Linked DNA regions of Homo sapiens: all the other regions are linked to region 1. The links are contacts of gene promoters, found by promoter capture Hi-C in blood cells and fetal thymus (Javierre and others, 2016). All regions are on one chromosome and are shown on one strand. Each heading gives the region's core, a stretch centred on a gene start or on the middle of the fragment in contact. The rest is flanking DNA. Distances are from core to core; before and after follow the strand shown.

Region 1 (3,219 bases), core at 1-2,500:
GCAGCAAGCCAGCCTCGTGGCCTTCTCGTCTCTAGCCTACAAGGAATAGGCTGATTTCCCCTTGGCAAGGCGCCTGAAGCAGCTGGCAGGCAAGCCCTCCTCTTCCTACTTCAGTACGCCCTCTGACCTGACTGCACTCAGAAACCAAAATTCTGCAGGTGAATGTAGGCTCCCATTTCGTCCCACAATCATTTCATCATTCAGGCACAGCTTGACCTCTAATGTGACATCACAAACCCTTCCGGTCCACAGTTTTTTTTTCTTCTTCAGAAACTACCTAAACAAGGAAGTTTGTGTTCCAAGGTAAGATAACCTGAAATGAAAAACTCAGGATCCCTCACGAACAGCCTGACCCTGCTTTCAACCAGGAAGTTCAAGGGAGGCAGGACTTTACGGTCAAAACTGCAAAGCCGAAGCTCAAGACTGTAAGAAGAAAGTGATCTTCAAAGAAAAGGATTCACCCAAATCGAAGAGGTTGTTGCACTTCTTTTCCCTGGCTGATTACATTTCATGTCTGTAAACTTTGCTAAGCCCGGGGCGCTGGCTGTATAAGCAGAGACAGGTGTAGGGACACCTCTACCCTCTGGGTACATCTGCGGCCGCCGCTGCTGGGTGCATAGGACGAAGGGCCCTCGACCCAATCCCAGTCCAAGCTTCCGGATGACGCACCTGGGCTGGGGACCTCTCCCACGTGAGGGGGGCCAACCAAGCATCCCCAGCCCCGGGGCCACCCAGCCTGCTCCGGAGGGAGGGGGCAGGGAAAAAGGGCATCTCGGGGCCAAAACCTCATGCCGGATCCTCCGGCTTTCCCCCCATTTCCAGGATATCGTTTCGCATCAGGGACACTCGTCTCCACACCTCCTACCTCAAAGTCCTACGCACCTACCCTTCACGTCTCTCCAAAGCAACTGAATTAAAGCGCCTACTGGCCTTGGCGGCGCAGGTGAGTGCCAAGAGGTGGAGGAGGAAGGGGCCCGCTCTCCGCCACCCCCTTTCCTCGCCTCCCCACGATCGCCAAGCTTCATCGGGGATGTGTGCCTTGGGGTGCGCGGGTTAAGAGGGAGCTTAAAAATGCCCCAAGCGTCCCTTACCTTCCACAGCCATTCTCTCAGAGCTTCCCTAACGCATGCATAATTTTCTTGGCCGAGGTACTCCTCCTGCCCCGCGCTCCCCCCTTCCTCTCGCTTTCGCCTAAATATTCTGCGCTTATCTGCTCCAGGACCAACCTGCCGCGGTCACGCAAAGCGAGGCAGCCGGCTCCCGGCTCGGCGCGCGCAGGGCGTCCTGGGAAGTGTAGTTCCCTCCCTTCGCTCGGACTGGGGAGAGCACCCCGACTCCTCCGCGGAGTGCCGCCTGGCCCCGACACTTGGAGAGCAACTCCAGCTTCAGCTGGCCAGGCCGAGCAATCTCTCCTGGGGAAGTTGTGAGGGGACCAGGGATGCCTGGTTGTGGCGGGGCGGGGGGGGAGGGGGGGGGGGTTCCCGGGAAGCGGTCTGGACTACATCTCCCAGGAGGCCGTGCGCTGAGATAGGTTCGCTGCTAAGAGTAGGGACCCGTGATTGAGCCCTTCCCTGTCCATTACAAGGGGTTTGGCACCTAGCAGGTGTGGTGAGGTGGGCAGGTGACGGTCAGCTGTGTGATGAGCTCCTGCGAGCTCGTCCGTGGGCCTCTGCCGCCGGTACCGCCCCGCCCCCTGGCCTCCTGAACCACCATTTAGTAGGGAGAGCAGGACCACTGTCCTCCTGTGTGGTTCTCCACCTGGGCCAGAGAACGCTGCCCAGGGTGAGGTTGAAACTTGTTCCTTCGCACCCTGAGATGTATGGGTTTTGTGGGGGAATTCCGACGGTTGATACAGTTGTCTTATCCTACAGGGTGGTTCAGGTGGCTAAATACTTGGCATGGGGGTGTAGGGGAGGAGGAGTGGCTTAAACCCCAATAGGCAACGTCCCCAAGGGGTTGTTAGGAACAAAGTCTGGGAGCCAGGATTGCACCGGAGGAGGTCAGATGAAAGCCTGTCTGGCTTCCAGGATAGGAGGCTTTCAATTTGCCTAGACTTGGAGCCTGTTGACAGCCTGTGATAGGGCCTAATAATTAACAGTGCCTGAGAATCAGGTTCCTTCAACTTCTGAACCTATGTCCTAGCTGTAGGTGCTGGGGATGCTATAAGCAGACATGATAATGGGAATCACGTGGATAGCAATACAATTCGACAGCTCGTAAAAATTAAGTTTCTAAACATTTTTTCCTGCGTGTGAAAATACGGATACAGTTGTGGCTGGAAGGGGTAAGGGAATAGCCTCGGGAATAAATCTGGCTCAAGACTGGATTGACTTTTAAAGGCCTTCAGTTTACAAATGTATTTGGTACCACATCCACCCAGTCACTCATATATAATGTTAATCTCTGTAAAATGAGGAAGTACAAAAATCGGATTCTTCCCATGATGACTACTTAGACATTTTTGTGTGTCTTGGTCATCAGCAAAAAAAAAAAAATGTTTTTCAAAACAATTTCGTTTCTCAGTGTATACATGCACACCTGTTGTTCTGGTCACTAATTACATGCTTAGTTCCCCTACTGGGTAATATATAATAATAATATGTGTATAGGTACTTTAAAAAATACCTGCGTGTAACCATTAAATGCTCTTGTTGATACTTTAATTCTGAGTCCATGGAGCTGTGTACAAGTCAAACCTAAGCCTCTCTTTTAGGTACAGTAGAGAGAGACCCATTCAGTGAGACATAATTTCCATGGGAAAAAGAATTTTCCGACCTAATACACAGCCAAGCATTCTAAACTCTGGAAAGAACTGAAATCCAGGTGCTTCACTACTTTATGTATATAAAATCACCAAAGTGTTAAGTATTTTCTGAGATTGAATGAATGTGAAAGAAAGCCATAGGACAGGTAGTATCAATGGTTCTCAACCTTGGCTGTGCATCAGCCTTCTACAAATATATATTCCTAAGCTTTTATCTTAGTCTCACAGAATCAGAGCTTATGGGGGTTTGGGTAGAGGCACTCAGGTTTTAAAAACCCACAGGTGATTCCAGTCTTCATTGAGGGTGAAAACCATTGGTCTGGTTCCAAGCTTTTAAATATCTGGGTGATATAAAAATATAAAAGTCATTGAAATCTGTGGTTAATTTTAAAACTTCATCTTAGCTCATCTTTAATATTTTTCCCAGTGATGTGCATTCTAGACGAGTTTTATTT
Region 2 (3,219 bases), core at 192-2,691, 1.9 Mb before region 1:
TTGCAAGACTCAGGTGGTATCTCGTTTCTCTGTCTGTGGTGGGCGCATAGTTGGAGTAGAGAGTTGGCATACAGGGATAAAAAGAGGATTCAAATTGAAAAGTACTGAGCAATTACACTCAAAGACCTTGAATCCAACCCTGCAAAAGTTTTCATGGCTTCCAATTCCTAAATTCATTTTAAGTTTAAATGAAAGCAACCATCTAAGTGATGTGCTGGGACTCAGATCAGGGCTAACATTATAGATCTTATTCCAATTTCATAAACCTACATATTGAAATAAAACCCCAAATGCAAACAATGCATTCAATCACGTTGTAAATCATTTTCTGTGCTGGTTCTTTCAATCTTTAGCCAAAACTAGATCTGGGACAGATTCCAGGCAAGGACAAAAATGCAAAATTCCATACTCCCCATTCTTTGATTATTTTACCTTGAAGTGGATACTCGACAGTTAGCCACGGGAGAACTTGAAATTTTCTGATTCATTCTCCTCATTAATCAAATTGACCAAGTAATTTTTAAACCTCCAGTCAGCTTTGTGCCTTCCTGTTACTGGCCCAGTATGTAGTCTTCCTATGTCAGAGACCATGCACATAAAAAGAGTACTTGAAACTTATCTAGACCTACAACCAGTTTGACAGTGAGGAAGTTGAACCCAGCTTTCTTCGGGAGTTGCCCAAGATCAAACGGCTTGGGTTTGTGGCAAAACCAGGACTCAAGGTTAGGAATTCTGACTCTAGGCAAACGAAGCTCTTGAGAGTTCTTCCAAAACACTCCATGCGAGTGATTTAGGATGGTCCTAAGGCAGGAGGAAATGCAAAATGGTGGCACCCTTTGCCCTGACAAATGGTTCCTGAGTGACGTTAGTTTCTATGGTGGTGTAGCAAGAACATTTGAACTTCAGGCACGAAAACTGGGTTCCAGACACTAACAAACTACGTGCCCTTCGTGAACGTGCTTAATTTCTTTATGGGAAAGCAGCCAGTACAAACCTCCCCACTCATAGCTATCCAATATATCATTTCCTTCTTTCACTTGGGAATTATAAACATTCAGGGGAATAATGTAAGGTAAATCACTTAGGACAGTGTCTGGAACATATTAAGGCTCAATATTATCACTGACTACTACTATACTGCCAGTCTTTCAGAGAAGCTCTTGCTACGCGCCTCTAAAACGTAGGTAACACGCTAAATGTATTCTCGTAATTTTCTTTTACCGTGGCCCCAGACTGCGCATGTGCGCCCCCGTGCGGAATCGCGCACCCCAGCGGTTTTCCAGCGTACGCACAAGTTCCGCCCTAAGGGACCGCCCCTTTAAGCGCGGGCACTGCGGTGGAAGCGCGCGCTGGTCTGGACATGACGTAAACCAATGGGCAGGCCCGGAAGACAGAGGCGTTTGCTTCCGTGGCCAAAGGCGCTTCATTTCCGGGTGAAACTGGCATTGAGGGTACTGGGGCGTGCGTGAGGCGTTTACTGATGCTTCCTGGTCCGGTGGCCTCGGTCCCGGTAAGCCAGGCATGAAGATCACAAGGCAGAAACATGCCAAGAAGCATCTTGGCTTCTTCCGCAACAACTTCGGAGTCCGCGAGCCGTACCAGATCCTGCTGGACGGCACCTTCTGTCAGGCGGCGCTGCGGGGCCGCATCCAGCTGCGGGAGCAGCTGCCCCGCTACCTCATGGGGGAGACGCAGCTGTGCACCACAAGGTGGGCCCGGGGGGCTGGGGAGGAGGCACAGAGGGTCCGTCGGGTGTTGTAGAGGCGAGGCCGTTGCTCACAGACCTTCATTGCGAGCTCAGGAGGTGCAAAACGCCCCGCCCACGTGGAGTTGACAGTTAAGTGGAGAGGTGAAGGTGGTCAGGCGAATACCTATAATAGAGGCAGATTGGACAGTGCCCTGTGAATATCACGTGTCGTTAGCCTGGCGAATGAGAGCACATTATAGCAGAGAGATCCGACTTCGAATCTTGATCCCAGTTCTACCAGCTCTGTGATTTCTGTCAAGTTATTTAGCCTCTCTGAGCCTCGGATTCCTCATTTGTAAAATAAAGATGATAACTGCTTAGAAGATTGCTGTAAGCTCAAACGAGTATAGTGTACTAGAGCATTTTTCGGTATCCAAAGTGTACCCGTCTTCAAATGGTTGCTGTCATTTGCATAGCTTTTCTTAGTTTAAACCAAAACTCTGCAAGCCTCACAGTGAACCTGTGAGTTACCATCTTTGATGTCCAGGGCAAAAAGTCAGTACTTGAGATTAAGGAATCTGCCCAAGCACATTTGTTTATTCAACTCGCTTTATTAAGTACCTCCTATATGCCACATACTGCTCCCTCATGGCCAGTAAAGTGCATAAGTCAGTCTGCAGTGTGTGTTTTCACTCTAGGTCTGATGTTTCCCCACTTCATTGAAATGTGGGAACACTTAGGATGGAAGCTTGTCGGGATGAAGAGGAGAGAGGAGAGAATTGTGACAGATTTCAGATAACATTTGAGCCCATTCACTTGTTCAGTTCTGAGAGGAAGAACTATTTTGAATGACAGAAAAGAATGACACTTCTTGTTGTGGAGACCTCTTCACACGAAATGGAGTTATGAAATGCCTGGGAAAGAGGTTGCAGCACAGAATATATTTGGGAGTGAAACTAGGAAGAAGGCAAATTGAGGCTAGGCCATGAAGAACTATTAAGAAATTTAGTAGTTTTTTCATTGTAGAATATTTACTTTTAAAAAGCAAAAAAAGAAAATTAAAATGACTCATAATACCACTACTCACGAATAATCACTGTTAACATGTGCAGTGTCATCCATCCAGTTCTTTATACACACTCACACAAGCACAAGAATGGACTTTTAAGCCAGGCAAGGTGGCTCACACTTGTAATCCTAGTAGCTACACAGGAGGCTGAGACAGGAGGGTTGCCTGAGTCTAGGAGTTTGAGGTGAGCCTGAGCAACGTAGGAAACCCCCATCTCTAACTACAGCCATAACAAAGTATGGGCTTTTTCTGTGTATACTGTGTTAATAGTCTCCTTTTCCTCACATACGATTACTTAATGAACAGCTATCTGTATTTGTTCAGAATTTCTCAAGCAGGGTCTCGGCTGGGTTACAGATACCCCCAAAGTTTTGATCCCCTTAGTCTTTAGGGCTGTCTAACAAATCCTTCAGTAGTCTTTGCTCCTGAATTGATTGCTTTTGTCTACAAGCAATTTGTCCAT
Region 3 (3,219 bases), core at 538-3,037, 1.3 Mb before region 1:
ACAAAAAAGTGTTCTCTCCAAAGATTTCTAAATATTACTTGCTTCCATGGGACAATAACTCATCCCAAAAAGCTACTGTACATTGCGATGACAAATATTTTTGAACTAGATAAACAGATCTGGAAAATACAACCTATTAAGAACAACTACATTACTGGTTTACAAATCTTTCAGTTGCAGGGCATCTAACAAAGAAAAATTCGACAATTCTGTTTTCTGATTTTAAAAAAGAAGAAAATTCACAAATAGGCCAAGTTAATTTGACCATGAAGCAACAGCTCCTCCTACAGCATCTGAGAATGTAGCATTTCAAAGATTTCTTGTTAGGTTCATTTCTAGAAAATTAACCAGGCAAAAATGAGGTGCTCTGTTTTCCTGGTCTACTTTCATGTCTCTATCCCAGTTCAAATACGTTGATTCTTCTTCCCCTATTTCCCAGCAGTCTCCTCCTTTTATCAGAAACTCTGCCAGGACTGGATTTTAAGCTCACTCACACTAAGTGAAAGGAAGGTGACTTTTAAAAGCCTAATGACAAGGTAAGGGGACTACTTGAGGCCAGGAGTTCAAGAAAAGCCTGGACAACATAGTGAGACCCTGTCTCTATAAAAAATTAGAAACTTAGCTGTGCATAGTGGCACTCACCTGTAGCCCCAGCTACTTAGGAGGCTGAGGTGGGAGGATAACTTGAGGCCAGGAGTCGGAGGCTACAGTGAGCTATGATCATGCCACTGCACTCTTGCCTGGGCAACAAAGTGAGACCCTGTCTTTAAACAAACAAAAAATTTAAACTAATCTGCATAAGTGAAAAGTTAGCCTCAGGTATTAGTGAGAGGGATCTGATCCCCCTACCCCATCCCTGCATAAAAGAGCCTTGGGGATTCTAACTCAATTGATTCTGCCCAACTACTTGGAAATCCCAGACCAGACACTTCAAATATTGGGCATTTTGTCCACTACCTGTTAATTTCTAGACTTAATTTCCAGTGTGGCCACAAGATGGCACTACTCTCCAACTGTTACCATACTGTACCAGGCAGGGCCCCAGGGAGCATGGACACACAGTAGGCGAAAACCTTGGTAATAACACAAGGAGTGTTCCCTCACATCCCCTTCTACCACCATCCTTTCGTGTGTGTGTGTGTGTGGCCAAAGATATATTAAGTCAGCAAACTCTGCTTTCAAAGGAAGCTACAGACGTAAGTAAAATAAAATACCTGAATTAGGAGCAACTTCATCCTAAACTTTAGTCAATATTTAGGTATCAATCCTTGAATGCATGGCAACAGAAACTATCACTACTTAAAAAATAACAATACTGCAAGCCACTTTTAAAAAGCTTTCATTCTTTTTGTTTTACTGTATCAAAAATGATGAAAAAAAATGATGCTTTTTCTCTTAAAAAATATCTCCATGCTTGTGATGTTTTGCTTGTTTTTTCTTATAGGGCCGAAGCGATTGGCAGAATTTCTGCTGTGGATTTGTAGCTGACTTCAATCACTGATTCAGAGCACACACACTCAGTACGCACACACATACACATTCTCATACATGTGCAGAGATGCAGAGATGCACACGTGAACATATGTGCACATGCATGACTACTCTTCCAGTAACATCAATAGTAGCACGCTGTGCTCCGTTTCCCATGGCAGGGCCTGATGAAGGCCTCCGTCTGACCCCTCTCTCCTGAAACTGCTCACAGGCAAAGCCTCCGTTTTCACCAAAGCCAATGCTGATGCTGCTTTCTTAGCTGTCTGGCACCCTCTTTAGCACATGCGGTTAGAGTTACCAGGCCAATACTTAGAACATCACTGGTAAATGTCACAAGGATACTAGTTTCTCAAACACACAGTTCAGAAAATCGTGTAACTCCAGCAAAAAAAACGCACCTTCCCCGGAAAAAAGGCTTTCTCATGTGTGGAAGACAAATTATAGAAAGGAACCCATGTTGCAGTTATGAACTTACTCTAGACAGCCCACATTTTCTATCTTCCAAAAGACAGTTGGCCAAAGTGATGACATTTGAAAGAAATATGTGTTTTTGTTTAGTTTTGTTTAATCTCCCTCCCACGCCCAAATCTGCATCTCCTCCCCTCTCTTGAGGCACCTCAGCCTTCTTCATCTGGTCTGTGTCTCCAGCAAGCAGACAGGCCCCAGCTGTGCATGAAGCATGAGCTCCCCCTGCCGACAGCTGGGAAGAAAGACAGGCTCTCTCAAACCCAGTCTGAGATTTTTCTCGTAAGCTTAAGTCCAAGTTGTGCAAAACTGCTTGAACGTGCACACTCACACATACACACACACACGCACACACATGTAAACAAAGTGATAATTGAAACCTTGTGTATTTGGAGGAAGCATTTGGTTTAATTTGCTGCAAAAGTATTTTCACCAATGGATCGATAATGCAAATGTATGCTATGGTAAGATCAGCTTTCTATTCAGTTGTGCTGGGGTCTTGTTGGGTGTGTTTTTAAAAGTGTTGAAAGACTATCCTGCAACCTACTTATCTCTGCTGGTTCTGATAAAGTGCATGAAATTTCCTAATCCATTCCCTAACAAGGCAGTAAGCATTTCCTTTTTCTTAAGTCTGCTGTAATGGACATCGGAGATTAAAGAATAGGTCCCAGGCAGGGTCACAGGAGGCAATTTGTGAGTGGCTGGCACCTGAAGGGAACCACACAGTACAGTAGGTCCAAAATTGGATTTTTTTTCTCTTGTTCTATATTGAGCTGACTCTGAGATGGTTACTCTCCTTTTTTTTTTTATCTTAATATGAATTGATGGTTTTGTCCAAATTCTTACAATTTGCAAGACATTGTTCAGAATTACTCCAGCATTCTCTTATTGTTTGGCACATTCATTTGACAAATGCTTATGTGTTCTGACACTGTTCTTAGATTTTCAGTTATAAAGATAAAGAAAACACAGTTGCCACCCTCAAGACTCAAAGCCTCGGTCAGGAAACAGGCAAAGAATAGAGGATAGTGTGTAGCTTGTGTTCCATTTCCCCGAACGTGGGGGATTTTAAAGGCATTTCAGAAAAACTTAAAACACAGACAGGTGCCATGCTGACTTTACCCAGAGTAGCAAGCTTTTAGGGAAAGCCTGAGCGTGCCTCAAAAGATTACAGCCCACAGCAGCATTGGGTAAAGAGAACATCAGCTGGACTGATGGACCAAAAGGCCAGGGAAATAAGGCTGCACAGGTTAAGGGCCTTGT
Region 4 (3,219 bases), core at 320-2,819, 1.2 Mb before region 1:
AGAATGACAGCCATAGAGATGGTGAAGTGAAACTGGGCACTCTTAGAGATCAGGCTAGCTTCAGATTCCTTCTGCTAGACACACTGACATTTTCTGAATAACTAAAATTTGAGCTTTGAAGATAGGAAGAATTTTGTTTGAATCTCTTCAAAAGAAATAATGTGCTACTACACATGGTAGGGACTTGTCTTATTAAAGAAAATGTAATTAAGATACTTTATAAGATAAATAAATTAAATGACAAAAGCAACTGATTCGCTTTTCACCCTGGAAACCTATTTCTCAGTATTCTACACAGGTCTCAAATCAAGAAAAATATATTTGATATCAGTGTTTCCACAGGATAGATGAAAAACATAGATAATAGATAGATGATGTTGTTGTTGATGAAGATAGATTAGATAGATAGATAGACAGATAGATAGATAGATAGATAGATAGATAGAATAAGAACTGAGTTCTAGAAGAAACTCTAGAAGAAGACAGGAACATTAGCCAACAGGACATATATTCAGTCCACCTAAGGCAATTCTCAGCTTGGCTTCTCTGAAAGAAATGAGATAGTAAAACACTAAGAAAATCTTTAAAAGGAAGAGCTGATCCTTTGCATTGTTTTTGGCAATAAAACACTGAGCTTTCAGAGATTAGCAAGAAAGCCAAGCAATGACCTGACGTTCCAGGTCACTAGAAGATGCTGACTTAGACATGATTATATTAGTGCTTTGTTCAGGGACTTCCAAGTGAATGCACATACAACTGATAGCTTCAAAATTCGGTCTTTTAAGTAAGCATTGCTTGAAAGCGATATCTTAATCCATTTTAATTATTTTTTTCTTAACCATTTGCATCTCTGTGTTCTCCTGGTAAAAGAAGTGTGGTGGCTCTACAGCAAATATGTTTTACAGCTTTTGTGTTTGGAGAAGGTGGAAGGAAAGCAAGGAAGCTGGTGTTTACTAAGTTTTTCCTATGTACCAATTATTTCACATATATTAATAGATTTCATCCTTAGTAGTATCCAGTATTTGTCTAATAATCTAACTGTAGAAATAAGAAGCCTAAAACTCAGCAAATTTTCTAATCATATGGCTGGGGTTTGCACTCAGGTATGTCTGACTTTTGAGGTCACACTCTTACCAATATACTGGCTGCTGAAGAACTTTAGGTTTAAAGAAAGGGAAAAGGAAAATTACAGGGAGAGGGAAAGCATAGAGCTGCAGTCAAACTCCATTTGTGCCAGACCTCACAGTTCAAATGCATAGCAGCATAAGACCACCTGTCTGGTCTGTAGTGGAGTGCAAGTAGTAGGTAGACATAAGGAATCTTGACATACAAAGGGCTTTGGTGAACAATGAGCTCAGAACCTTTATCTTAGAGTTAAGGAAACTGAAACTGAGAAAGCTCCTTGTCCAAGGTTATACTTGATTTTTGAAAATTTGTCAACATCAGAGCTAAGCCTAGAACCCATAAATCCTCATTCTTAGTTCTAAACTCATTCCATTATTCCATTCATTCTACTTGAGAAGGAATTCTCAGACATAGGACCTGCAATAATTTCCTACGGAGATCAAAATCAAGTGCAGAAGAAAAGACTTTAGCCTGCGACCTGAGACTACTCAGAAATCCTAACATTTATTCAAAGTAATGAGTCCTTTGAAAAGACTCTTTCTTATTACAGTAAAGCATAAATTTAAATTGCAACCAAAAGAAAATAATTTCACCCTTAATCCCAAATTTATCTTCTGTGCATAAAGAGCATGGATTAAGAGACAGTATTTACTTGCTGTGTTGCCTTAAGTCACTAAACTTCTCTGAGCTGCATTTTAATTATCTATAAAACGAAGATAGTAATAATACAGAGGTTCCTCATTATCTCAATTTTATTATCTGAGTCTGCAGCATAATGAGACTGCACAAGAAATCAAAAGCCATCATAACATGAAAATATCCTCTAATGCTCTAATGAGTTGCTCATTTATGAAATTAGTCTGCTCTCTGCATCCCTTCTCTTTTAAGATTTGTATTTATCTCTAACCATCAAATCAATGCCTTGGATCATTAGTCTATAAATATCTTGCAAATCCTTTGGCAAGCAAAACTGTAAATCTCAGAAAAGTTTCAGACTCTCAAGCGATGAATGAGAGGAGTGCTAGAGAATAGTGCAAAGTCACACACAAAGCAACGGACATGGAAGGATCTGGCCTAGTTAGCATCTCAAAACCACAGAAGAGAGAAAAGGTAAGGTTGGTGACAGGGCAGGAATTTTAAAGAAAATGATTTGAGTATCAAAATAACAATAAAAATCTTTGGGAAAGCTGATTAAACCTTGAATGTTTCTCAAAAGTGACCTTTGAGGATTCTTTGAAAGTTAATAACATAAAAGGACATTGCATTATGTTCTCATTTATAGTTTTGCCAGAAATCATGTTTTTTTTTAAAAAAAGGACTCCATTATTTTCAGTAAACATGTCTTATTGTCATTATAACCAAAATTATTACATTTATGAAAAATATATTATTTTTATTACCTTTACTTTTTAAAGGTAAATTCTCAATTGAATCCTTTTTCCCTTATATACTATGAAATTTTTGTTGCAGCTTTAAGTGAATTTTTTGTAGTGAATAATTAAATTACCCTTGCATAATAAGGCTCTCTTTTATCTGTACCATCTTCTATTGTTATAGTAAACAAATGAGATAAAACTTGCAAATGCATTTTACAGATTCTATAGTGCTACGTTAATGTTAGAATTTACTTTGTTTCCAAAAAAATGTTTATTTATTATGTGCAAGTTACCTCCACATACATTATTTATTTTATTCTCAAAACAACTCTTGGAGGTAGGTATATATCATCTCCAAACTATAAATTAGCCAAATGAAGAAACTTGTTCAAGGTCACATAGCTATTAGGTGGCTTAGTTATACTGAGCACCCACATTGGCTGTTCTCAAGTCTAAGGTATTCATTCTATTAATTTGGACCATATGAAGCCACCAATTTTCAGTTCAATAATGGCTGAACATCTGCCTTTCATATGATTCTACCTTTCACATTCATTCAAGAAGTATTACTGTCTATTCCCCATCAGATACTAATCTGAATTCTAGGGATATAGTAGTGATCAATACAAGCAAGGTCACAGTTCTCATGAAAGTTACATTCTAGTATAGACCATAACATATAAACAATAAAGCAAATAATTTAAATAAACAGAACAAA
Region 5 (3,219 bases), core at 372-2,871, 1.2 Mb before region 1:
GCAGAAAACATTCCCCAACTACCTCCATACGTTTTGTAGGGGTCAGTATTATTCATCTCCCAAATTTTGTATTTGGGTCTTTTACAATTACAAATCTTTTCTTTAAAATGATATAACTCTATATCTGTTTATAATCCTAATACCCCCAAGGCCCTGGATAGCTAGACTCCTTCTCTGTTTCTCCATAATGTCCTAGGAGATTTTATATACAAACTTTTCCTGATAAGCTATATACATATATCTCTATCATTCATATATATATTACAGAGGTATGCAGATTAGGCCCTACCATAACCTTGCTTCAAAGATATAACTATGCATAGACATCTGTTCACTTGAAGAAGCTCAATGTTTCTCCCACTAATGAGCCAAAATACCCAAGGGTAGATTTACACCAGTTTATACAAATATGGCACAAAAACCATTAGCCTTGAATGTCCTCTTAGAGAAGGTGATCATCTTTACAACCACTTCCCCTTGAACATGCATGTAAACACACACACACATACACACATATGTTAAAACAACAAAACCCATGATTTACAGTGTAGTATTCGAATAAAGAGGAAATCCTCTGGAAAACCAACTTCAAACTCTGGGTTTGTCCATCTATGTAACCTTGAGAAAATTACCAAGCTTCTGTGAATCTCCATTTCTCCATCTCTAAAGGGGGATAGGAATACTATACACACCGTAATAAAGAGCATTGTAAAAATTAAAGCAAATAAGGTGATGAAAGTGAATCCCGTCTTAGTACCTGGCACATAGTAAGTGTTCAATAAATGTTTGATATTCAAATAATCCACAAATATTTATAGAACATTTGCTGTATACCGAACATTAGACCATGTTCTGGGAATAAAGAAATAAAAGATGGGATTCCTGCACTGTATGAGTTTACATCCTAACAATAGTACTGGTAAGCAAATAAAATCAAGCTACTGTTGTTGAAGAATGCATATAAGGGCCAGAGGCACTCAAGGAGGGCCACACAAACCAGACTCAAAGAGTTAACGAAGGTTTCCCTGAGAAGTAATACTTGATCTGAACCTTAAGGACTAAGTAGACATTAGCTAGGTAAAGAACATGGTAAACACTATTCTAGGCAGAGGGAACATGTTTAAAGACATGGAGGCAATGAAGTCTGCATGACAAATTCAAAGAAATGCAAATAATTGACAATCTATCTAGAGGATGGATAAAGTTGACAGCCCATTATCTTGGAACTTATGCTTTCACTGGTATTGTTTATTTCACTGTTTTATAATTGTCTGGTTGTTTATCTTTGTCATCTACACTATGGCCCATGAAGACAGGAACACTATCTTGTGCAATGTTGTAACTCAAGCAAAAACTGCAGTAGCTAGAACACAGAAGGAATGCAATAAATGTTTGAAGAAGTAAATGAATGCTACCTGTCCCAAAGTGTTCATTTTTAAATACAGAAGCATAGACTCAGAGAGGTTAATTCACTTATCTAAAGATACATGGTAAACCTGATATCAGACTCTGAACTACCACCCTTCTGTCAAGTCTGCATGATACCACTTCCATTGTAAGTGGGCAAAAATTGCCATTGAATTGTATCAGAGAATCATGAGAAGAAGTCATATGATAGCATTCAATACAGCTCTAGGCATTTAACCAGTCTGAAATTTCCGAATTAGAAATGCAATTTACTCTTTTCTGAGATCATTCGGTAACTGAGGATTGAAGCACAGAGACACACAAATTATAAACTTTATAAATTCTACTCCGGTAACTGGGAAGAAACAATATACTTTTGAGAATTAAACAGATTTTTTTCTCTTCTAGAAGATCCAAGACCTGTCGTTGTAAAACTTTATTAGATGAGAGTCACAATAATAATATTTAGGAATGAGAGGCATTTCCATAATAAAAGTTTACAGGAAAGCAGTGTTAAGCCAATAAGCCTGAGTCTGTTTTCAGAGACTCAGAGGCAGAGGACTAAGGAAGTCTTAAGTAGCCCATAGAACTTCCAAATACATCCAGATAGAAATAAGATTTTCTTACACAGAAATCTGTAAGAATACTATTTATTTCGCCCACTGGTCTAATTATAAGTGTCTTCACTTCAGCAGCTTGTTGGAGGCAAGCCTCTTAAAGATCTTTGTGTACAACAATTCCTGAAGAGGTTCTCTAATGTACCTTTATTAAGATTAACAAGGATTGTTTGAGAATCGAACTCACATGCAAGAATGAGAACTAATATAGTTTACTATAGAATTAACCTAAACATAACTATTCAATAAGCTATACATAATATTCAGAATCCCAAGTCTTCCTCATTAGAAACAAGCCCACCATGACCAAAGGAAATACTTTTCTTCTTGTTTTGTCAGGATTTCTTACCTTTCATTGACCCTCTTCCTTGTCTTTAGAACTGCTTTACTTTCATTTCTTCATATGTCTAAATGGCTGTTTGGAATTACAAAAGAACTGCTTTGATTCGACTTCTCATAGTTCAGATCTTAAGTGGAGAATGCTCATCAAGTCTATTGCTCAGTCTGGCAGAATCCTTGGCTCTTTGAAGATTCCAGGCCCTCACAATTTCATGAGATATTAGTTTCCCTTAAAAGCTGGATGAAAGCTTGGATTCAGTAGTTGAGACAGAGGCAGAAGTAAGATAAAAGAAGGAGAAAAGATCATAATTAATACTGGCACAAGTTAAGAGAGGAAGGCAAAGATATCTTGAGGGACTGAAATAGGAAAACAAAAAAAGTACATGCACAGTGAGCACAACACAGCATATGGCAATCAAAGGGATGCTTGCTCATGGTACATGGTTTAAAGAGAAAAAAAATAGGGCTTATATTTGCTGGTTGTTTCTAAAAGAAGGGCCTGGATAGCTTGGTAATGGCTTCCCATTCTGCATAATCAAACTCATGTTAAACAGACATCAATACTCTTTAAGTACTTTAATAAACTTGATTCTAATACTTCAGAATCTCTTCACATAATGAGGATAGTATGTGGGAATATTAAAATTCTAAAAAAAGTTTGCTTCATCCAATATGATTCAAAATGGAAGGCAACTTAACGTGTTGTTCAAGATCCTTGATTGTGTACAAATCCAGATATCTTTCGTTATTGCCTTTGTGAATAGGCAAAGTAATTAACCTTTCTATTTCCTAGTTCCCTCAACTGCAAAATTGAAACAACCAGACCTACCTAATTCATTTACTTACTTAGCAAATA
Region 6 (3,219 bases), core at 444-2,943, 1.1 Mb before region 1:
TATTGTATAGAAATTAAGACTCTGTTCCATTCCCTTCCTAACTATGGGACTATGGGTAATAATTTTGTACTAAAATCTTCTTCTGTGATTTAAGATAATACTTCCTTTGTGTGGATTATTTTGCTTAACCTCTCAGCGGTGTCTGACACTGTTCAGCACAAGCTCCTTCCTGAAACAATCTATTCTTCCTGTGACTTCCATAGCCGGACTCTCCTGATTTTCCTCTGACCTTTCCAGTTCTTCCCAATTTTTGTTGTTAATGGTGTTGCCTCCTCTTCCTCTTTCTGTTCCTTAGTGTTCCCATTGGCTCTGTCCTGGAACAGCTTCTTCCTCACTTCTCACTTTATCCATTTTCCTCACCGTTACCCATGGTGGAAGGAAGTATAGTGCACATTTATTGAATGCTTAGTATACACTAGGAACTATAAGTGTGTTATATATAGCATCTCACTTAATCCTATCAACAATCCCAAAGCTAAATACCATTGTTATTGATGGAGGTTGGTGTCATCTGTCCACTGTTGAGTAATGCCAGGTTTGGATTTTAGTCCAGGACTATCTGACTCCATGGATTTTGAGCTTACTATCACACCCACCCACCTTTCTCTAACCATGTAAAAGGAAAACCCTACCAGGTCCCAGCACACACTCAATTGCTTACTGGATATATCCACTGATGATCATGCACACATTTCAAACCCAAGATGCCCCCGAGTAAACTCCTGGTTCTTTCATCAACTATTTATTGAGCACTTATTATGTGCCAGGCACTGCTGTAGGTGCTGAATCTACTGAAGTAACCAATAGAAACAATCTCTAATTTCATGAGATTTACTGTTTAGCTGAAGGGACAAACAGTGAAAGAAACAACATCAGTTTGAGAGAAACACTACAAAAAATGAAGCAGGCTAAATGGACAGAGAGATGGAGAGGGCTGTACTGTAGGTGGAATAATGGCCCCACAAAGATGCAAACCCTCTAATCCCTAGAAGCTATGACTATGTTGCATTACATGAAACAGGGAATTTTACAGGCGTGGTTAAGGTTAAGGGTCTCGAGGTGGGGAGTTTATCTAGAATAACGTAGATGAACCCAGTATCATCACATAGGCCCTCAAAAGTGAAAGGTTAGAGGTATGTGACAAGGACAATGGAATAAGATGCAGGAGAAATTTAAAGCATGAGAGAGACTTGCCTGCCATAGCTGGCTTTGAAGATGGAGGAAGGGACCACAAGCCAAGGAATGTGGCATCTCATAGAAGCTAGGAATGGCTGTCAGTTTACAATCAGTAAGAAAATGGGGACATAAATTTCTGCTGCTTTAAGCCACTAAATTCTGATATTTTTTTCCAGCAGCAACAGAAGACTAATGCAGGCTATTTTTTTTCTTTTTTTTTTTTTTTGAGACAGAGTCTTGCTCAGTCGCCCAGGCTGGAGTGCAGTGGTGCGATCTCGGCTCACTGCATGCTCCACCTCCCAGGTTCACGCCATTCTCCTGCCTCGGCCTCCCGAGTAGCTGGGACTACAGGCGCCCGCCACCATGCCCAGCTAATTTTTTTGTATTTTTTAGTAAAGACAGGGTTTCACCATGTTAGCCAGGATGGTCTCGATCTCCTGACCTCGTGATCCACCCGCCTCGGCCTCCCAAAGTGCTGGGGTTACAGGTGTGAGCCACAGCACCCAGCCTGATGCAGGCTATTTTAAGTAGGGTGGCCAGAAAAGGCCACTGTAAACAAAGCCTGGAGAGATAGCTGAGAGAAGAGCTTCCCAGGCCAAAATAAATGAGTCTGAAGTGAGATGAACTTGGAGTGCACAAGGAATAGTAAGGAGGTGTATGTATCTGGAGTGAGGGGAGAGCTGTGGGAACTGAGAGAGCAGGAACAGCCTAGGCCAGCACATGTGGAGGTGTGCAGGTCATGCAGCTTTGGATTTTATTCTAAGCACGATGAGAGGACAGGAGAGCAGGGGAGAATCATAACCTGACTTAGCTTGTAAGTTTGCCTGTGGGTGCTGTAATGAGTGTGGACTGGATGGGGCAAGTGTAGCAGGAAGGGAGTTCAATTAGGAGACTCTTGATTGTTATCCAGCATTCTAAATAAGAGAAGACAGCTTGGACTAGGTTGAAAGGGGTGAAGTAATTGGTCACATATAGGATATATTTGAAAGTCAGAGTTCATTCTATTTTCTGATGACTTGGAAGTAGGGTGGGAAAGAGAGAAGCCAGGATGGGCAACTAAATGCATGGTGGTGCCAGACAATGACATGGGAAAAGTGTGGTAAAGAAGGTTGGGAGGGATCAAGAGTTGGGTTTTCTTAGACATAAGTTTTAGATGCCAAATAGCCATCCAAGTCAAGATGTCAGGTTTTTAGGTATGTGAGTTTGAATTTAGGGACAGTTTGGATTGGCGGCATGTGGTAGGCAGATTTTAGTTACTCCCCGAAGATGTCCACATCCTAATTCCCAGAGTCTGTATGTCATGTTACATGGCAAGGGGCGATTAAGGTAGCAGACGGAACTGAAGCTGCAAAACAGCTGACCTTAAAATAAAAAGATATCCTGGATTATCTAGGTGGACCCGATGTAATCAAAATGATACTTAAATGAAAGAGAGGCAGAGGACTCAGAACCAGAGATATGGCATATTCAACTAGCCAATTCTGGCTTTGAAAAGGATGAAAGCTGGTTTTTGCAGTTGGTGGAAGTGGTCATGAGCCAAGCAATTGCGGCAGCCTTCTAAAATCTGGAAAAGACAAGGAAACAGATTCCTTCTGAGAGCCCCCAGAAGGGAACACAGCCCGCCAACACCTTGAGCGTAGTTCAGCGAGAACAATTTCAGACTTCTGAGCTAAAAAGCTATAAAATAATAAAAGGTGTGCTGTTTTAAGCCACAAAGTTTGTGGTAATTTGTTACATGTGCAATAGGAAATTAACATAAGGCATAATTTCTCGGAAACTTATTTTTTCTTCAGTGTATCCTGTCTTGGTAAATGACATAAACTTCACCTGAAGTTTCACATGAAAGCAGAAATACGTGCCATCCTTAATTCTTTCCTCTCCTTAATGTTCCTGATCCAGTTACTATCAAGTTCTCTAGATTCTACTTACTAAATATTTATTCAAAGTTACCCTCTGTCTCCTTTCTCTGCACAGGTCATGATCATCATCATCATTCCCCTTTGGGAGAGAAGACAATAGAAACCCACCATCTGTTCCCCATTT
Region 7 (3,219 bases), core at 201-2,700, 1.0 Mb after region 1:
TTTCTCACTCTTAACCCCGCCACACCCCACTTCAATTCACTAATTCACTTCTAATATTATTCTTTCAACCTACTGGCATGATTCAAAAGTAACTTAATTGATGTAAGGAAGATTTAGTATTCCATCAATGTATGTGTCCTAACCCGGTTGATAATAAAATTTCAAGCTGGCTAAACAGAGGCAAGTGATGGTCTTTCATAACAATCAGATCAAGACATACAGAGAAACACAAAATTCACAGGAAGACAGACAAACATGCTGGAATGTCAGGAAAAGTCCAGAAAATATTGTTCCCTAGAGTGCCCATTACTTAAAATGTAATTTTTTATTTCTAAAACCATCAGCAGCTCCAATTTCCAGGAAATTAACCAACTCATTGCTTAAGACCTGGTCAGTTAAGCCCCCTCTGTCTGCACAAGGAGCTCCTTTATAAGAACACTGTATGGGAACACTACTTATGGTGTAGTGTATTGTAAAAAGAAACTCTTTCACTTTGGTTCTATTATTTAAGTCAAGGTACACTATTAAAACTTACCTTTCCTTTGCCATAAGGACACACAATGAGGACAAATCAATCCTGAAAACTCTTTAAACACCTCCTCTCTTTTATGTTTTTCCAATTTTAAGTAAATCTTAAAGTCCTAAATTTCTGAAGTTTCATAAAGATAGCTCACTGCCTTTTTTACTTCCATTCCTTTTTCCTACATCAGAACTTTCTAGTGGCAAATACTACATCCTATATCATGTGACAGCAAATCAGATTTGGGTAGCTCCAATATTAAACCAACACCTGTTCTCACCACTTCTACTTTAGCCTTGTCTGTGAACAAGAGTTTTAATTGTATCCTAACATTTACAAATTTGAGTACAAAAATGGAAATAGCCAGTTATGAAACAATCATAAATGTTCTCTAATGAAAACCACACTCTCCCACCTGAATTATACACATAGGTGGTTTTACCCAGAGAAATTTAGGACTAACTTAGTTATACTGCAAGATTGTATTAAAAATAAATATTTTAATAAGCTTACATTGATTACCCCGTATGTAATATTTTTAAAAAATTGAAAATGCAAATAGTTTTGACACTTACCTGTAGGAGGACCTTCCTCCCATCCTTCTGCTCTCTTAATTCGATGTGCAGTGAATCCTAAGCAGATATTGACTCCAACGGCAAAAGTGAACAGGGATATTATCTAAGAGAATAAAGAGACCAAGTTGTCAAATACAGCTGGAGAAGACTAAATCAAATTACACAAAGGTGATTCAAATGGCTTCAATATCAACACCCAATCCTACCACTTCCAAAATGCATAATAAGGTGCTATCTTAATTTGCACAACAAAAAGGAAAATGCCAATCAGTCACTGATTCTGAAGATCAAGCATGTCCCCCGTCATTCCTCCGTTCTCCCACCTGACACGACTGGAACGAGCTCCTCCTTGCCATGTCGAGGATTCTTGGAAAGCCTTTTGCAGCGTGTTCTCTTTGCCTTCACGGAGTGCACTGCTTTGAGGCTCTGGGTTTAGTCTATTAACTATAAGCAATCCCACCTGGGAGGTTGACAGACTCCTCTGATTTGTCCAGAGCTTGATTACATCACAGGGTGTTCACAAATCGCAGCTCTGAGCCTAAGAGGCTTAAGCTATCATCCCCCTTATCCCCGCCCCCTTACAGGTCCCTCCCCTAACCCACAGACACTTTCATGTGGTATCCTCTGGCAACAGGAGGGTTTGTTACATTGCCGTGGCCCATAACAGTGCATGTTCATTTTCCTTTCCTCACAAAAACATGGTTTGTCAAAAAGAAACCAAATGCATTTCATCCGATAAAAATGAAAACAGGGCTGTGCAAGGGCTTTCCACCAGCTTTAAGCTTTTAAGGTTTACAATGCAGTCATTCAATGGCGTCAACCTCACCACTTTATTTTTTTAAGCAAGGAAAGTTTTATCATTTATAAACCTAATAACGTTCCTGTCTTTCCCATCTATTTATTTTGCTGGCAGTTTGAGCGACCCTGTCCCTAGTATCACATTCTCAGCTACTTCTGCCTCCTTGAAAGTTTCTCATGATGAAATTTCGCAAAATTGTAACTAACATAAAAGATAACATTATTTTCCCCATGCTGTGGTTCAAGTTTAGAGAAGTAACTTTTATCAAAATACTGGAAATGCCAGCCACGCAGCATAAAGTCCTTCTGCCCTGGGAGGACGGACAAAATAACTTCAGTCTCTGCCTCTTCTTCCCGTAAAGACTGTCAGCTTGTTTCGGGCGGGGCGGAGGAGGGGGCGGTTTTTGAGAGGCAGATGGGTGGGGGAAGGGGATGGCATGGGAAGCTTTATTAGCAATTGAATTTAGGAAGGAAATCTCAATGGCAGCAAGAATTGAAATGTCAAGAATTGTTTCCCTAGTTATTTCTTGGTTAAATGTAGCCACCAAATACTGTGTCCTTTGAGGCTATTGTGGGTACTAAAGTTTCTTTACTAAGCAATTTGGCAACCAGCACACTTTCAAAAGAAAAAATCAAGGGCTCTAAATCTGAAAGTTGTTTAAATATTACATGCCTTCAGGATTCAAATGAGGGAAAAAGATTTGTTTTTGGCCTCTTCCTCAGCAGGTCCAGTGACCATCTTTTCTTCCGCAGCACATGTGTTCGTGCGTAAACAAATACGAGACTTACCATGCAACAAATTAGTAACAGAGTAGTGGCTCTGCTCAAATAAAACATGATAGCACAAAAGCAAAAACTTGTTTATAGGGGGTTGTACAGTAGGCCTGGGTTTCATTACAGATTCTTAGAATCTAGTAATATCTAATTGAAAAAAAGAAAATACACATACTGCCAAACTGTTAATTGCCTTTCTAAAATCCTTTTAGTTTTGCACTGTTGCAAAGAGGACAGGCTTATACATTTTTATATGTAAGCCTCTTGCTTTTGTCTGTATGCCATACTGAACAAATTTGGAGTAGGGTATTTAGCAAGGCTTATAAAAGATGTTAACTCCATGAAAGATTTTCCTATAATTTATGTTAAATTTCAAGATACAAGCCAGACATGATAGAGGAAAACAATAAACCCCAAAGAAAAATATCAAGGCAATCCTGTTATTTCATTATATGCCACAGTGCTCTAAATGTTCTAAAAACAAAAACAGCCTCTTCTTTTGCCTTGCCAGAGTCTAACAACTTTTGACTTTGTCTGATATTTGATTGTATA

Evidence for each region. The method cuts DNA at HindIII sites, captures the fragments that hold promoters and counts their contacts. A CHiCAGO score of 5 or more calls a contact.
Region 2: the fragment with the promoter of UTP23 here is called in contact with the fragment with the promoter of SAMD12 in region 1 in 1 of 17 cell types (fetal thymus); the score reaches 5.0 in fetal thymus.
Region 3: a fragment that was not itself captured here is called in contact with the fragment with the promoter of SAMD12 in region 1 in 5 of 17 cell types (M0 macrophages, M2 macrophages, fetal thymus and 2 more); the score reaches 8.7 in M0 macrophages.
Region 4: a fragment that was not itself captured here is called in contact with the fragment with the promoter of SAMD12 in region 1 in 2 of 17 cell types (non-activated CD4 T cells and naive CD4 T cells); the score reaches 5.1 in non-activated CD4 T cells.
Region 5: a fragment that was not itself captured here is called in contact with the fragment with the promoter of SAMD12 in region 1 in 1 of 17 cell types (M0 macrophages); the score reaches 5.6 in M0 macrophages.
Region 6: a contact is called between a fragment that was not itself captured here and the fragment with the promoter of SAMD12 in region 1, in 5 of 17 cell types (fetal thymus, activated CD4 T cells, naive CD4 T cells and 2 more). The highest score is 11.7, in fetal thymus.
Region 7: a fragment that was not itself captured here is called in contact with the fragment with the promoter of SAMD12 in region 1 in 1 of 17 cell types (naive CD4 T cells); the score reaches 5.2 in naive CD4 T cells.

Annotation. Positions count from the first base shown.
Region 1 is chr8:118,620,713-118,623,931 of GRCh38, forward strand. SAMD12 (sterile alpha motif domain containing 12) reads right to left here and starts at 1,251. Exons shown (of 4, transcript NM_207506.3): 1 at 1,092-1,251. The coding sequence starts at 1,104. It overlaps SAMD12-AS1 (SAMD12 antisense RNA 1), which reads left to right and starts at 289. Exons shown (of 5, transcript NR_038210.1): 1 at 289-474; 2 at 823-943. RefSeq lists enhancers at 244-293, 324-533, 1,144-1,343 and a silencer at 1,444-1,593. The HindIII fragment of the contact is 1,953 bases long and covers 1,018-2,970 here.
Region 2 is chr8:116,765,083-116,768,301 of GRCh38, forward strand. It overlaps UTP23 (UTP23 small subunit processome component), which reads left to right and starts at 1,442. Exons shown (of 3, transcript NM_032334.3): 1 at 1,442-1,709. The coding sequence starts at 1,522. It also overlaps a transcript of EIF3H not described here. RefSeq lists enhancers at 1,359-1,508, 1,519-1,828. The HindIII fragment of the contact is 9,967 bases long and covers 1-2,433 here.
Region 3 is chr8:117,328,132-117,331,350 of GRCh38, forward strand. The region is part of intron 4 of LOC105375716 (a long non-coding RNA gene); the gene reads right to left. Among named protein-coding and RNA genes, the nearest start is that of MED30, 190 kb to the right of the region's middle. The HindIII fragment of the contact is 907 bases long and covers 1,335-2,241 here.
Region 4 is chr8:117,443,548-117,446,766 of GRCh38, forward strand. All of the region lies in intron 3 of LOC105375716 (a long non-coding RNA gene), which reads right to left. Among named protein-coding and RNA genes, the nearest start is that of MED30, 76 kb to the right of the region's middle. The HindIII fragment of the contact is 3,753 bases long and covers 1-3,219 here.
Region 5 is chr8:117,463,297-117,466,515 of GRCh38, forward strand. It overlaps LOC105375716 (a long non-coding RNA gene), which reads right to left. Exons shown (of 7, transcript XR_928569.3): 3 at 2,374-2,611. Among named protein-coding and RNA genes, the nearest start is that of MED30, 56 kb to the right of the region's middle. The HindIII fragment of the contact is 1,975 bases long and covers 635-2,609 here.
Region 6 is chr8:117,515,769-117,518,987 of GRCh38, forward strand. The region is part of intron 2 of LOC105375716 (a long non-coding RNA gene); the gene reads right to left. Among named protein-coding and RNA genes, the nearest start is that of MED30, 3.3 kb to the right of the region's middle. The HindIII fragment of the contact is 5,785 bases long and covers 1-3,219 here.
Region 7 is chr8:119,637,330-119,640,548 of GRCh38, forward strand. ENPP2 (ectonucleotide pyrophosphatase/phosphodiesterase 2) reads right to left here and starts at 1,510. Exons shown (of 25, transcript NM_001040092.3): 1 at 1,419-1,510; 2 at 1,096-1,198. The coding sequence starts at 1,451. RefSeq lists a silencer at 1,626-1,725. The HindIII fragment of the contact is 849 bases long and covers 1,027-1,875 here.